Regions from separate parts of the Homo sapiens genome. Here region 2 is linked to region 1. The links are contacts of gene promoters, found by promoter capture Hi-C in blood cells and fetal thymus (Javierre and others, 2016). All regions are on one chromosome and are shown on one strand. Each heading gives the region's core, a stretch centred on a gene start or on the middle of the fragment in contact. The rest is flanking DNA. Distances are from core to core; before and after follow the strand shown.

Evidence for each region. The method cuts DNA at HindIII sites, captures the fragments that hold promoters and counts their contacts. A CHiCAGO score of 5 or more calls a contact.
Region 2: a contact is called between a fragment that was not itself captured here and the fragment with the promoter of CAV2 in region 1, in 5 of 17 cell types (endothelial precursors, megakaryocytes, total CD8 T cells and 2 more). The highest score is 13.4, in endothelial precursors.

What each region holds. Positions count from the first base shown.
Region 1 is chr7:116,497,724-116,501,443 of GRCh38, reverse strand. It overlaps CAV2 (caveolin 2), which reads right to left and starts at 1,706. Exons shown (of 3, transcript NM_001233.5): 1 at 1,513-1,706; 2 at 997-1,184. The coding sequence starts at 1,662. It overlaps CAV2-DT (CAV2 divergent transcript), which reads left to right and starts at 1,928. Exons shown (of 3, transcript NR_188012.1): 1 at 1,928-2,090. RefSeq lists a silencer at 1,734-1,823 and enhancers at 2,004-2,143, 2,190-2,691. The HindIII fragment of the contact is 7,148 bases long and covers 1-3,720 here.
Region 2 is chr7:116,282,367-116,286,086 of GRCh38, reverse strand. LOC102724434 (a long non-coding RNA gene) reads left to right here. Exons shown (of 4, transcript NR_130922.1): 3 at 1,681-1,719. LOC105375463 (a long non-coding RNA gene) reads right to left here and starts at 608. Exons shown (of 7, transcript XR_001745336.2): 1 at 530-608. The HindIII fragment of the contact is 831 bases long and covers 1,517-2,347 here.

The sequences.
Region 1 (3,720 bases), core at 457-2,956:
ATTTATCAGGGTGTGGCAATATCATAAAAGGTGTAAGAAAGACACGGAGGTACCTTGGGTTATACCTTTCACCAGGACTAACCTGAAGCACTAGCGTGACAACTGTTGTGATACTGGGGATGATCTGAATATTCTTCCTCTCAGATTAAAGTGGATATTTTCTAACACAACAACATTTATTGGTAAAATATGACATTTTCCATAAAAAATTTAAAAGATGCTTAAGAAAGTTCTCTACAGTTTAGGACACATTTTGAGTATGAATAGAGTTACTCAAAATATCCTATCAATATACAGTGGGCTTCCATATTTCTTTCCCCTTTAATTATATGCCACTTCCATTTGTGTTTCATCAGTGAAAAAGTAATTTGGAGGCCTTCTCATTCATTATCCCGCAGCTGGAGTTTTCATTCGTTTGTACTGGGGGGGACCCTCGCCTTAACTGCACACACCTCCCTTTCCTCTGGGTCCCATCCTTGCCATCTGCCAGGGGCAAAGTTGAAGCAGCCCCTCCACACTACTGCTTAACCAGGTCTGACATCCTCATCCAATTCTACTGTCAGCGGCATTCTGCTCAGAGATCACTTTTGTTTTACCCCAAGCACAGGCAGTGACTGAATAAAAGGCAATGAAAGAAAGAAGAGTCCTGCCCAGAACCGCAGGTACGAGTCACAACAGGGCCCCGAGAGCAGCCTGTGGTAAGAAGTGTGGCTTCCAGGTACCCGCCTCCACACTCAGCCCAGCCTTATGTATGCAAGGAAAATCACACCCCAGGAAAGACCGACATTCTTTCTCCTGTTGAAACTCCAAGCCCAAACTGTTATTCTAAAGGAAGCGCATTGCCTTTCAAGGCCTTCCAGTTCTTCCTACTGCTTGGGAACTGATGCGCGTTCCTCCTCCTGACGCCGGCCTGGGATAAGAGGAGAGTAGGGGGCAGGTGGCGGAGAATATGCCCATGTTTCAGAAAGCCGGTCCACCCGGTGTGCCCCGTCTCACCAGATGTGCAGACAGCTGAGGGTGGCAAAGAGAATTCCCGCAATGAAGGCCAGGGGAATGGCCAGGAACACCGTCAGGAACTTGTACATTACGTATTTGCTGATTTCAAAGAGGGCATGGCTGCAGATCCACACTTTGTCAAAGGAGTGCGTAGTCACCGGCTCTGCGATCACATCCTCGAAGCCCAGCTGAGGAGACAGGACGCAGGGACCCCGAACTGTCAGCCAACCTGACGCCCCGGGAACCGGGAGCGCTTTGGGCGGGGGAAGCAGGAGGGAAGGACGTGCCAGGGCGTCCGCCTCTTCTCTTAGGGTCACGGTGGGCGCACAGGAACCTGGCTAAGAATTCCTGGCTACGCGGGCGGCCTGGTGACGGGTGGGACCGGGGAAGGGTGCGGGTCTCAGACCCTGCGGGGCCGACCCGGTAGCAATGGTGGGACGGGTTAGGGCGGGGCTGAGGGGCGCCCGCACCTCCCGGCCTCAGCGGGGACTTGGGCCCGCCCGCCCCGGGCTTCACCTTGAGATGCGAGTTGAGCCGGTGGGGATCCCGGTCCTGGTCCGAGTCCGCGAACTTCTCGGGGTCGGCGTACTCGAGGCCGCTGTGGTGGCTGTAGGAGTCGTCGTCCATGAAGAGCTGTACGTCCGCCTTCTCCGTCTCCAGCCCCATCGCAGCCTTGGTGCGCGGCCGCTGCAGCCCGGCTGGCGCGGTGCGGCTCCCGGTCCGCGCGGCCTCCCCTTCCCGTAGCGCCCGGCCCCGCCCCCCCTCGCCTCGCCTAGCCCTGCGAGGCCCGGGCGGCGGCCGCTTCCCGCTGTGGGCTCCAGCTCCCAGCCCGGCCGTCCCGAGCCCCGCCCCGGCGCCCCGCCGCCCCTCCCCGCCCACCTCCCCCGCCGGGGCGCAGGGAACCGTCCCCACGAGTCACAGCCCGGGCCCTGCAGTGGGCGGCGACGCCGGCAGCTGGGACGAGGAGGGCCTCCTGGTCACCCTTCTGGGGGCCCGTACTGTCATGCCTCAGAGCTGGCAAGTCGTCCCAGGGAAGACAACGGCCTTCCTGGAGGGAGGGAACCTTGTGGTTAGGCGCATGGGGTGCGAAGCAGGTATGTGCTCACCTCCGGCTGTGTTTGCCTTGCGTGCTGCGGCTCATGGTGCTGGTATTGAGCCTCTGGGAACCTCAGCTGCCTCGTTGGCAAAATGGGGGCTGTGGCATCTGTTTCAGGGGTGTCCGTGAGAATTAAATGTTAATTTCACATAAAATTCTAACACACATGGCCCATGGCCCGTAACACACAGTGATAAACTTCCAATCAACGTTGTTGCTGCTGTCGTGAGAGGTAAGGAGCCACAATGTACCTGAGTGCTAGGTACCTGAGTGCTAGGTGACCTGCAAGTGCATGTGGAGTTGGGTAGGCGAACGCCCTGGCCCTAGAGTTTGTGCCTTCAGATCTGAGGTGTGAGGGGAGATCTGATTTTTTTTTTTTTTTTTTTTTTACTTCCTAAACTACACCGTGTGTGTGTGTGTGTGTGTGTTTGTGTGTGTGTGGCAGAGTTTCGCTCTTGTTGCCCAGGCTGGAGTGCAATGGCACGATCTCGGCTCATCGCAACCTCTGCCTCCCGGGTTCAAGCGATTCTCCTGCCTCAGCCTCCCGAGTAGCTGGGATTACAGGCATGCACCACCACGCCTGGCTAATTTTGTATTTTTAGCAGAGACGGGGTTTCCCCATGTTGGTCAGGCTGGTTTCGAACTCCCAACCTCAGGTGATCCGCCCGCCTCGGCCTCCCAAAGTGCTGGGATTGCAGGCGTGAGCCACCGCGCCCGACCTCCACCTTTTAATTTTCTTGTGAACCAGACTGTCTTGAAAGATTCAGGAACTTCTAAGATGCAGTCACATCTGTGATTATCTTGCAGGCAGCACGGAAACAGAACCCTAACACAAAGCCACATTGCAATGGATGAATTAGCCTGCTGACCACTCACGCAAAGGTTTTCAGAAGGGAGGAGTTTGCATGTTCATAAAGGGCTTTAGGGTCTGGTAGACATATACGTGTGTTTGGGGAGGAAGGGCACTTAGTGAAAATTTGCCAAAAGCAAAACAATGAGAACTAGGCTTGAGGTGCAGGTTGCTCAGAGCTCAAAGTAGGCATGTAGTAGGTATTGCTGGATACAGTGTATTTGGAGCTTGTTGAACATATCAAATCCCCTTATGTGAACTGGATTTGAAGAATTGCTTCTTCCGAAAGAAAAAAGATCATTTTTGAAACAGTAAAAATTACAGAAATAAAAAAGAACAGGAACTGAATGAGAAAAATGTTTGGGGGTGGGAGGCAAAGTTCAATATTTCTAATAATTAAAAAGTTTCCCTGCTGCTACCTCAGTATATGAAGGGCAGTGTTGTAACCCTATAGGGTGTTACAGAGTTGACTCTCATGGCTATGGAGCCCCTCCTCTCCCAGACATCACCCTGCTTACCCATTCCCTTCTTTTTTACGTATCTTTCTCATTTTTATTTATGTTCAGTCAATTCCAAAGTGATGACTTAGACATTCTACTCATTGCATTTTCTCTGCTTCTCCACCTTGTCCATTCTCCTGATGAGAATTGGAACTCTTCTAGAATTGTTGCCCAACAACTGTTCATTAAAGTGAATAGAAGACATGAATCCTTATGGGAATCCATAATATCAACTGTGAGGAACAGAAAAAAAAAGGAGATAATTTACAGCCAAATAC
Region 2 (3,720 bases), core at 683-3,182, 220 kb after region 1:
GAGCTCCAAGGTGTGGCTTGGTAGTGACAGGCTTGAGGCTGAGCAGAGGGGCATGTTGGTCTCCTGCCTCTTAAGGCTCATATCTAGCTGATGAGATCCCCTTTAATGTCATGTTGTTGTTTTATTTCCTATTTATATTTGAATTCACGATTTTACACATTTTTAAGATGAATATAACATGCCATATTCCTCATCTATACCTAGATCAATTAATAGCTATATATAAATAGACATATATATAATGAACTTAATAACATGAGTTATTAAAGTATATAAAAGAAACTTAACAAAATCCCATATTTCTCATCTATATGTTTGTATATAAGAAGAAAAATCAATGTCTACATTTACTCTTCACATATATTTTACAGGCACCTTCTTTACTATGGTCACCATATTAACACTGAGATCATCACTGTCCATCGCCACCTAACATTAAGCTAACAAAAGTTATAGAAAATGAATTCAACATTCAATGAATACCTTTTGAGCATCTATTGTGTATCAAATACTTTCAAATATAACTTACTTAACTTTCTCAACAATTTGGTGGAGCAGATACTGTCTCTTTCTTTATAGCTGGGGAAATTGAGGCTAAGAGAAGTTGGGTGAGTCATACTTTGCACTCAAACCTCTTTGTTTCAATTTTACTCTATGGAAGTGCCATATAATGCCCCAGAAAAATAATAGACTGCAATGTTTCTCAGCCCTGTCTGTTGAAAAATTATTGGTACCTAGGGAACTCAGCACAAATATTAACACCTTGGCCGCATCACAGAGAGCCCAATTTAATTGATTGGGTAGGGAAGGGAACAGAGGAAGCTAATTTTTAAAAACTCTCTTGATAGGTCTAACATGCAGTCATGGTGAAGATCTACTGATCTATTGTTTCTTATATATACTAAGTTATATTATATTATATATTCATATATTATATATTATAACTAAGTTTCTTATATTTACTGACTGCTTTCAAATTAATATGGCTTTAATTGTTGGGGGGCTGTATATAGTTAGTTCAGCAGTATCATAGACACTTCTGTTTCCTAAACTGGCATGATTTACTCAAAGCTGGCAATCATTAGAATTTTGATATTTATTTTACTGCTTACTCAGTAATATCTATTTCTGAATTGCTATTTTGGAGCTCCTACATGACTCATTAATTGCTATAATAACACCCCAGAAACAAATGTTAACACATCATATTAATAATTTTATCTTAAATCAGAAATATTTGCTCTAAATTTTTAAGGATCAGGTAATGAAAGTGAGCATCCAAACTCCATCTAGCACTAGGGTTTAGTCCTCTACAGCAAATGTGAAGGTCAGGGAAATCTCCAGAGTTTAGTATCACCTGAGAGTTGGGCAAAGTTAGAGCCAAATCCCTGGTAATAAAAATAGGGATCGGGTCATGTGTATATATACTATACACATGGCAAGTTTGTGTTGTGGCAAGTTGTGGCAAGTTTCATCACTGAAAGAGTGAAGGGTCATAGAGAAAATATTTCAAGCTTCCTGAATGCTCCAGGATCAAGGACATACCACAACAAAGTCACACTCTCTTAAGTTATACGGAGTGAGACTTTTTAGCCAGTCAGAAGCTATTCACAGAGCATTTGTAGAATTAGATGAGAGGAAACCTCATAAATCGTTTCATAAAATATTTTCTCTTTACAGATGAGAAAAATGAGGATCTGACATGAAAAGTGACTTGCAGTAGGTGCAAACTAGTGTCCAGGGCTCTGGCCTCCACCTCTGGTCAACTTTCACCACCCCATGTTATGCTAACCCCTGGCATTCTGTTTGTGCACAACCAAGTCTTTAATTTGTCCTAGTAGTCATATTTTTTTCCTCTTCTTCTTAAATTGATGTCTTCACTTGCTGTTTCCTTGGGTGTTGAAACCCAAGTCCCATCCCCTGAGGAACCAACAACATTGAATACGAATATGGCCATGAACTGATTGGCCAAATCTACTCTGACCTGTGCTCCCAAGGTGAATGACCTTGTTGGGGTTGACTAAGTCTTTTCCAGGGAGGTCAACATCACCTCAGCTATTTCAAAACAGAGCTAAAGTTCCAGTCCAGGGAATGGCTGATTCTTCAGGTGTGTTTCTGTGTGCACAACTTGTTCTTTCAACAACCTCCCCATGAGTTTCTGGAATGTGAAGACTACTTTTGTCTGAAGAAACCACTGGCCTACATATTTTTGTTATACACACATGAAAAAATTGTTACAAGAGGTACTGCTGTGACAAGCAATATAAAGTCTTGGACTGTTTCCTAGTTATTTGTCCGTACTTTATCCACCTGCCTGAGGAGAGTGGTACAATTTTGAGAGGAAGCTTGTGAGCGAAGTAGAGTAAATAAATTAACAAATAAGTAGACTGAAGAATAGGCATTAAACTATAAACCAAATACTTTCCATAATGGGTCCCTTTTGGCTGCATGACTTTCTTTGCAAATATCCTTTTTTTTCTAACCACTTGTACTTTCTCATTTTTAACACTCTCAGCCTTACTTAAACCCAAATTACTTCCTTTCTTTTCTCTCTTCTTTCTTCCCATTCCCCAATTCCCACATATTCCTCTTTGACTTTTCTAACTAAAGAGTAATTTTGATCACTGAATATGTAATATATATTATGGAAATTATGTATATATAAAATGTTTGTGTTTATATATATGCTATACGTAGTAACACACACAAACACTTTTCCTCTGCTATTGTATATATGTTATATATTCCTCTGCTATTATATATATTATATATAATTTAATATCAGAGGAAAAGAGAAAAAGCATTTTTCATGCTTATTTCATATAACAGTTCTAACTTTTTCACACTGGAGTAAACTAAAAGGGATTTGCAGGCATCTGCATGGGACCTGTTGAAAAAACATATTATGTATACTTTATCTATATCATTGTGATAAACACAAATATTAATGAAAAGATTGAATATTGAAACAGTCAAATCTTTGCAGTTTTTAAAATGAGACTTCAGTATGCTTTCCTGACCTTTTTTTCTTTGGCATATTTTCATGCCTGAAATGGTTAAACACTTCCTAGTCTCCTAGTCAAGTCTTATTAATGATGATTCCTGCAAGGTCTTAACAATCCTCATTGATAAGACACTTTTTTGCATAAGTTATAAAAATTAAAACCGTTAACATAACAGTTAAAGTGTATTTGAAAAATTTAGCACCTTGTGCCTTTTTTTCAAAAACAACTGTAAAATTAGAATTTCCCTTGCTAAAAAGAATAGATCTTTGAATCCAATACTTTTTTTTAATGCCAAGTATTTTGAAATAATGACAATTTAATTTGGGGACAGGTCTGTGTGTTAGAGGAGCTACTATGCAGCCAGCTTGGATGACAAAACAGAAATATTCAATATCTGTGATGCCAGAATGTAGGGGCCACTACTTGGAGCTACCTCTTTCCCAGCACCCACCTGAGCTTTCTGCTTCTTCCTTCCCTGTCCCCATCCCTTCCCCTACCAGGCTCACCTTAAGCTATTGAACATCTTGGACACCAGCTCTCTTGGCAGTCTCATGGACTCTGTAGTGAGTTGAATAGTGGCCCTCACAAAATATGCCCATGTCCTAATTACCAGAATCTGTGACTATTATCTTACGTGGGAAAAGGAACTTTGCAGATATAATTAAATTAAGGATCTTGAGATGAGGAGATCATCCTGGATTATCTGTGTGGCTCT